Regions from separate parts of the Homo sapiens genome. Here region 2 is linked to region 1. Evidence: promoter capture Hi-C in human tissues and cell types (Jung and others, 2019). All regions are on one chromosome and are shown on one strand. Each heading gives the region's core, a stretch centred on a gene start or on the middle of the fragment in contact. The rest is flanking DNA. Distances are from core to core; before and after follow the strand shown.

Region 1 (4,001 bases), core at 1,079-3,578:
ACACCTCCTTTCATTTCCAAGATGCTGTGTGTGCAGCATAGTTATCAGAAAGTAGGCCCAGTGCAGCACCAAACAATTCTTGAACATTTTTAAATGGCAAACTAGCTTTTTCCAATCTCCTCTCCCTGGCAGGAAGGACTCAAGTAAAAAAGAGTTCTTAAATGAGGTCAATGAGGACAGAAGAAAACCAGTTTGTGAAAATCATTAGTTCAGAAAGATGAAAGTGAGACTATAAAATAAGAGCTAGGCAAATATTTCCAAAGCCTAGCAAATATTGTTATCTGGGTCAGTCTGAAGCTGTTTCTTAATCTTCAGCATGAAACATATTAAGTTAGTATAGATCTCTCACATTTTGTTCTAAATCTGCCACAAAGTAATGAACAGAAAAGAAAAAATAGATATGTATTTTGTCACACTGTTCCGGTGATATCAGGAACTTTTTAGCCATACTACAAATCTTTTTTCACCATGGGGAATAAAAAGCCTCTCAAAGAACAATCGTCATGACTCGTGATTAAATTCGCATTTTATGAAGATGTAGGTCATATTAATGACCTTTGCCTCATTGAAAATTATTATACTTTCTCTTGCATAGGTCTGGCTTCTGTATACGAATGTTGTCTTTAGGAAAGTCATTCTCAGATGAAGACAAAAAATGGATGGGCATTAAAGAAGAGAAAAATAATTCATTTTTAACTTTCTTAACATTCACAGGAACATTTCAGATACAAGTTTTCCACCCCAAAACGAAAAGCTCAGAAATGAACATTGTGGGATGCTAAGGCTTCATTGCTGATATTTCCCTCTGGGCTGGACCTGACTCTATTTACGGAAGGGGGCAGAACTTCCAGCATCCAAAGTCTGGGATCCCAGTCAGCACACCCAGCCTGCCTTCCCAAGGGGCTTCTTCCTGTGCGGCTGATGGCTGCTTCGTTTTGCACGGATGCCTGCCCGTTGGGATGCACCTGGCCGCCTGTGCACCACCATTTCCCAGAACTCCTCCGCCAGCAATGCAAGATCTCTCTATGTGAAACGTATCTTTATAAAGAGGAGACGAAAGTTCTCTTGCCCTCTAGTGCAGGCTCTGCCGGGAAGCAACTGCACCATGACAGCGCCGCTGGAGTCTGACGCGCCAGGGCCTCCGCGCAGCCTTCAAGCCATTTCCCTCCCCCAGCCCTTCCTAAAATAGTCAGGGGGTGGAGGAAGGGAGGCTCCTAGAATCTGTTCAACGCCCTACCTCTCCCATCTGATAGTAGCAACAGTACCGACCATCACAATAAGAGGCTGGCTGCCTTTTGCTTCTGCACCATTGGAGCCCAGGAGATGTGCCACAAGCGGAAATGACAACTCAGAGAGGGGGATATTAATAGGGACATCTACGTACGAGATGCAAAGAGGCTCCCCAACCTCCTAGTCTCCTTATCTATGAGTATCGCACACGTACACACATCACTGCCACCACCCCCTCCCATCAAGCACGCAGAGCCCCAGCGTGCAGGCACAAACTTGCTGACAATTTGTCTGCAATGTGTTCGTCTTGCACCTCTCTCTCCTCTCCCTGTCTCTGTCTCTCCCTGTCTCCCAGTCTCTGTCTTTCCTTTTACCTTCTCTCTCGGCCTCGTTCAGTTTCCCAGCAGCAAGGCGAAGCGAGCGAACGCTTCCTCCCGGCTCTCTGCGCCCAGGCTCGGCGGGACCCCGGGGATGCGCGGCTGTCCGCCCGCCCTGTCGCCGGGATCGGGCGCGGTCTGCAGGACTGCGGGAGCCCAGCCGCCCTGGTGACAGAGGACAACAATCTCAGCCCGCTGCGGCCGGCGGCCGCGGCCCGGCGCCCGCGCTCACCCTGGCTGGCTCGCCCACACTCACTCCCGCGCCGGGCTGCTCAGCCGCGCTCCCCGCCCTCCGCGACCGGTTCCTCCTCCCGGCTGCTCGCTGGGGGGTGAGGCCTCCCCCTTCGCCCTCCCCCACGCATCTACTGCTCCTGTCGGGAAGGAAGGTCGCCCAGGCCGGTTCAGCCTCTGGGCAGGGTCCCTGCACCGCCCTGGCCCGCCACACCCCCTCCCCGGCTCCGTGCCCCGCGCCCCGCGCCCGGCTCCGGGATGCGCCGGTGCCTGGAAGAGCTGGGGGCGGGGACCCGGAGGCTCGCAGGCTTCCCTACCTCCTGGAGATGCACGGCCTTGGGCGTTTCTCCGCAGCTGCAAAGCTGTGCTGTGACCCACCCGCTCAGCGAGCCTTTATACCGGGACCACCTCCCGGGGGTCGAGGTGGGAAGGAAATGTCCCTGAGAGCCGGGACGCGCTGCCTCCGCTGCCTGGAGGAGCTGCGCTGTCCTGCCAGCTAACTTTTGCCCACGGTTTCCACTGCCCGGGTGACCTTTCTGAGCGGAACCTATCCTGAAAGGCTGGGAGGTTCCCTGATGGTCCCAGGAAGGGCGTGATGCAGAGCAAAGAGCAAAACCCGCTGGCTCCTTTTTCATCAACTTCCGAAAGATCCTAAATCGTTTTGGCTGCCAAGTCAGTAGCAAATAACTTAATTTGAGGGAGACTGGTCAGGCTTTATAGATCTTTTTTAATGTTATGTATAAAGTTTAGACTTCTTGAGAAAGCGCTTGACATCTTTAATTCTTGACTGTTTATTATGATGATTCTAAAAACCACTTTTAGGTTCTTCAGGTGCACTGTATGCACCCTGTACATTGCGGAGCCATTTGTATCTTTGGCCACAAGTCCTTCTCGTGGTGTAAGAGATCTTGGTGTTGCCTGGTAGCATTCAGGAGAATTTATTTTGTTGTGGTTTTATGGTATCCAGGCAAAGTCAAACACAGTCTCTCTTCACCAACAGTGAAGTCCAAGTCCAACAGGATGATTGCAGCTAAAATAATCGAAGCCATGTTGCAATAATCTTAAAAGTAATAATCCCCCCCTTGAATCTCCAATCTGAACAAAACAGTCATTTATCCTCTAAATTTGCTGAAAGGAAGGAGCAGTTTATAAAGTAGATGAAGTTTCTCTTTGCTGCCTGCCTTTCCCTTACCTGCTGCCAACATTCCCACTGCCTAGCTTTCCATTTTCTTCAAATTCTCCTTCTTCTGGATCGTGTCAAAATAATAACATCTGAAACAAATCTGGTAAACCAATCTGATGTGTTCCTCTTCTTTGTGCTGACTTTTGTTTTTTTTTAGAGAGAGAAACCAAACAATGGATCTCTATTTGCAGAACTTGCTACCTCCAAAAGTTGGGCCTGGAGGAGGAGTGTTTGGGATCACTCTCAATGTATGCCCTGCCTCTGCCTGAGGGCAACAATCCTGGGGCACCCCCAGAGCCCCTTGTGGAGACAACCACCAGAGCATAATTATTCCAGGTCAGCCCTCTGTGCCCAGTGGCCACAAAATGGGGTCCAGATTTCCAGGCTTGCCACTCAGAAGAAACAGATCAGAATGGCTCAGCTCACCCTCTCAATCCCTACCTTCATAGAATCAATCCACCCTGCCGGCTTTTGAAGATGGGTAGAAAGTTATTGTGCCAACTTTGCCATTCTTTTTGTTTGTTTGTTTGTTTGAGATGGAGTTTCGCTCTTGTTCCCCAGGCTGGGGTGCAATGGTGCAATCTCGGCTCACTGCAACCTCCGCCTCCCAGGTTCAAGCAATTATCCTGCCTCAGCCTCCTGAGTAGCTGAGATTACAGGGATGCGTCACCACACCTGGCTAATTTTGTATTTTTAGTAGAGACAGGGTTCCTTCATGTTGGTCAGGCTGGTCTCAAACTTCCGACCTCAGGTGACCCATCCAGCTCGGCCTCCCAAAGTGCTGGGATTACAGGTGTGAGCCACTGCACCTGGCCACCAACTTGCTATTCTACACGTTAAGCAACTACTTTCTTGGGTTTACTTACTTGAGAAGTGAGCCACTTAAAACACAAGCCTGAAACATTGCTTCCACCAACTAAAACTCCTCTACTAGGCCTAATCTCTGTTCTCACAGGCTGAGACAGACAGAAGCATAGAGC
Region 2 (4,245 bases), core at 1,142-3,641, 78 kb after region 1:
CTCCCTAGTGAGATGAACCCGGTACCTCAGATGGAAATGCAGAAATCACCCGTCTTCTGCGTCGCTCACCCTGGGAGCTGTAGACCGGAGCTGTTCCTATTCGGCCATCTTGGCTCCTCCCCCTGAAAGAGTATTTATTTCACTACTATACTTAAGGGATACTTTTGCTGGATATAAAATTCTGAGTTGACAGCTTTTTTAAAATCACTTTAAAATATCACCGTGTCTTATTAAAAGTGAGTATTTAAATAATTGTCTTTTATGAATGTAATGTTATTATTATTTGTAATTTGGCTGTGTTCAAGTTTTTTTTGTTAACCTTTGATCTTCAGCTGTTTGACTATGACGTGCATAGTTCTTTATATATATTCTGCTTGATGTTACTGAGACTCTTGATTTGTAGATTAATTTGTTTCACTAATTTTGAAAAATTTCAGCCTCATTTATTCAAAATGTTTTTAGCTCCATCCACCCTTTCCTCTGTTTGGGGGATTATAATTGCACATTTGTTAAATATTTTTATATAGTTCCACAAGGCCTAGAGGCTTGCTTTTTCCCCCCAATATTTTTCTCCATTTTTCAAATTGGATAAGTTCTATTAATACACCTTTAAGTTGGCCGATTCTTTTCTCTCTCATTTTAATTTCACTGTTAAGCTCATGGTATAAATTTTTTAGTTCTCATTTTTTTAGTTTTAGAATATCCATTTTGTTATTTCTTATAGTTTCTATTTCTTTGCTGAAATTTCCTATCATTTTATTCATTGTGAGTGTTTTACTTGAAATCATTGAATATGGACATATGAGTTGCTTTAAAATTTTTGTCTGCTAATTATGTCTGGATCATCTTAAAGTTTGTTTTTGTTGACTGTCTTTTCTCTTAAGAATGGATCACATTTTCCTGTTTCTTCATGTGCCCAGTAATTTCATATTGTATCTTGAACATTTTGAATGGATTCTGCTATATTACCCTGAAGAGTGTTATGATGTATGTTTTCCCCCTAGTTTATTTTCACAGGCAAATAACTCTGTGGAACTACAACTACAGAAACCTATAAAGCCTGTCCCTTGGGCAGCAGCTTAAATCTCACTTTAGTTTATTTTTTTTTCTCTAGTGCTGTTTGGAATACATCCCACGTATGTGTGATTCAGGAGTCAACCAAAGATATGTGAAATGTTTATAAATAAAATTTGGGGATTCTCCTCTCTGGCTTTCTCTTCTCCAGGATTTCCCTCTCACATTCTCAGCAGCTCTTGTTTCCACAATCTCTGTCCTTTGTTTCTCAAGATCAGAAACAGTGCAGGTTTTCGACTGTAGCTTTACCTGTCCCAGACTGGAAGCTTCCCTCAGGTTAAAAGGTTTGAAAACTGGAGCTTGACTAGTACTTGCTGTTCTTTTCTTCCAGGTCTCAACTCCTCTCCAGTAGCTACAAGCATTTGGTCATTCTTAAGGCCTTTAGGTAGAATTTTTTTTTATATTGTTTTCAGTGTTCATAGTCATTATTACTTGAAAGGGTCAGTTCATAAAAGCTGATTTGGAATCCTAGCTTGATGTTTTTATTGCCTGTATCTGTTCTAATGTCACATTTCTTACTCTTGATATTGGTGATTTTCTCTTTCTCTCTGTCTCTTTCTCTTGCTCCTGCCCACTCTTTTTCCCTCTTTCTCTTTCTCTCCTCTTTCCATCCTTGTCGTTCCAATTAGTATTTTATTCATTTTTATTAGATTTTTTTCATATCTGGCTTTGATAATTTCCTCTATTTTTTCTTTTTCTTTTTTTTTTTTTTTTGCCCCTGTTTCATTAAGTTCTGCTTTCTCTTATTTACTGTATGCTACTTTACTTATGTTTCAGCTAGTGATCTTTTCCTAGCTTCTTAATATGGAAACTGAAATAATTGTTTTTGTAGGCTTTCTTATTTTAAAATGTATACCTATAAAGCTATAAATGTTCTTATGAATGTGGCTTTAGGCACATCTCACATGTTTCGATATTTCACAATTTTATCAGAATTCAGTTAAAATATTTTATAATTTTCATTAGGTATTTTATTTAATTTTCTTTATAGATCCTCAATCTCTGCTGAAAATTTTTAACTTGTTAATTTTTTAAACACATTAATCAAGTTATTTTAATATTTTTGTCTGATAATTCAAATATTTTCATAACTTACAGATATTTTTCCATTTTCTATTTGTTCTTTTAGTTTTTGTTTACTTTGTCTTGCCTCTTAGGATGACTTGTAATTTATTATTTATAACACATATATATATAACATTATTAGGTATATATAAATTTATTTAAGTATATAACTTTCTATTTCATATATATGTATAAAACTTTCCTTCTGGCAGTTAGGGGAAGATCACCTCAGTCCAACTTGGGATTGATCTATATTTTTATCTTTGTGAGGTCTGGTCTTTCTCCTGTTTACCATTAAGCTTAGGGAGTAGATCCTAGGGGGCCTAATTCCAGATTCTGGGATGTTTCCTAGGGTCCAACTTCCTTGGCAGCCCCTGAACACCAACTTATGTTTTCTAAGCTTACTTATAGTGCACAGCATTCTACTCAGATATTTTTGTTTCTTTTTACAGATTATTGTGATGAAAGATTTTCTTTTCTCCTGGAATTTGCTCCTTTGATTTAATAGTTTTGATAAGTCTCTGATGGCTTCAAACAAATTTAAGAAAATATTTTATTCTCCATTGTACGCTTGCTCTCATTGGTTTGATACATGTTAGTCTATCATATACAGAAAGGGGTGTGCTACCTTGATACTTTTGAATTTGCCCTCACCTCTAGCAATACTGTTAACTAATTATATTCAGAATATGGCTTGTGCTTTATAATTTTGATCAAAACTACTTTCAAATCTCCAAGCCTTTTGTTTATTTGACCACTACCATTCACAAAAAGGCATCTACAATTTATTTTTTCCATGAAGCTTTTTTAAACCTTCCAGATATATGTTATCCTCCTATCTTTCAAACATAATGACATTTTCAGCTCATAATGGTTATGCGTCTCATTCACATTTTCTTAGAGTATAAATTAATGAATGTAGTTTCCATTAACCAGGAAGGAAAAAAGAAAAACAAGAATTCCATTTAGGCTTCAGAGGTGGGACAGGGTGTCATTTTAGGTGGAGCAGCCAGGGTAGACCTCAATGAGAAACTTACATATAAGCAAAAGACCTGAAATTAACCATACAGATAGCTGAGGAAATAATTTTAGGAATAGATTACAACCAGGGATGGGCCCTAAGTCAGGAGCCAGCCCATCTGATGTACTTAAGGAATGGTGAGGGGGGAAGTGCAGACAGAGCTCAGTGACCCAAAGGAAGAGTAGAGGAGATGGGCTCAGATAATTGGGAGCCTATCAAGTAGGGACTTTTAGGATATTCTTAGGCATTTGTTTTTACTCTGGGAGAAGTGGAGGATTTAGAACAGAAGATTGATATGATTTGACTTACATTTTATAATGTTCTCTCTGACTACTGCATTGAGCACATTGTTGGGGTGTGAGGGATATGGCAAGGACAGAAGCAGGAAGACCATATTCCAGGTCACAGATGTGGGAATGTGGCCACTTGGATCAGTGAAGTCGCAGAGTGGGTAGTGAGAAGTTGAATTCTGGATTTCTTTTTGTTTGTGAAAACAGACCCAATAAGATGTTCTGGCACATGAGATATAATGGAAAATACTCCTCGGCTGTTTAAATTATTATAATCAATCAAATTTCTATGCCCTAAATATTATTCTCCCTAAAAGCCCTTTTCGTCAAAAGTAGTTCTATTGCCTGAACCATTCTCCTATACACTCTATGATACCAAGGACTTCATGGCCTGCTTTGGTGAACATTGAACTTATGATTCTTAACAACTGCAAAGGGTTTTTGAATGTTTTAAACAATGTTACATTCTGCCATCACTGATAAATCACTTTCAGAGTTGGAATGCTTCAACTCAAGGCCACTAGATGGTGACCTCTACTAAATTTTAATACCAGTGGATGGAATTTGAGGTATTGATTATATTTACTAAAAATCATATTCAATATTACAATATTAAAATTGGAAGACACGAACGTGGCTGTTATTATCAGGCCAAGAAGGGTCAAATGACTTGAGGAAATTACACAACTATTAGCAGTAAGAGCCAGTGTTCGTTGAGGGCTTGTTATGTGCCATCTACTTGCTAGTTTTGTAGGTACGTATTACAAATTAGGATGACATATATTTAATTTATAT

What was found. Contacts are between HindIII fragments. The study calls those that stand out against the background at their distance.
Region 2: a fragment that was not itself captured here is called in contact with the fragment with the promoter of SYNE1 in region 1 in 2 of the 25 tissues and cell types used here (liver and mesendoderm cells).

Annotation. Positions count from the first base shown.
Region 1 is chr6:152,635,034-152,639,034 of GRCh38, forward strand. It overlaps SYNE1 (spectrin repeat containing nuclear envelope protein 1), which reads right to left and starts at 2,329. Exons shown (of 146, transcript NM_182961.4): 1 at 2,156-2,329; 2 at 1,605-1,772. The HindIII fragment of the contact is 20,643 bases long and covers 1-4,001 here.
Region 2 is chr6:152,712,534-152,716,778 of GRCh38, forward strand. All of the region lies in intron 1 of MYCT1 (MYC target 1), which reads left to right. Among named protein-coding and RNA genes, the nearest start is that of MYCT1, 17 kb to the left of the region's middle. The HindIII fragment of the contact is 4,742 bases long and covers 21-4,245 here.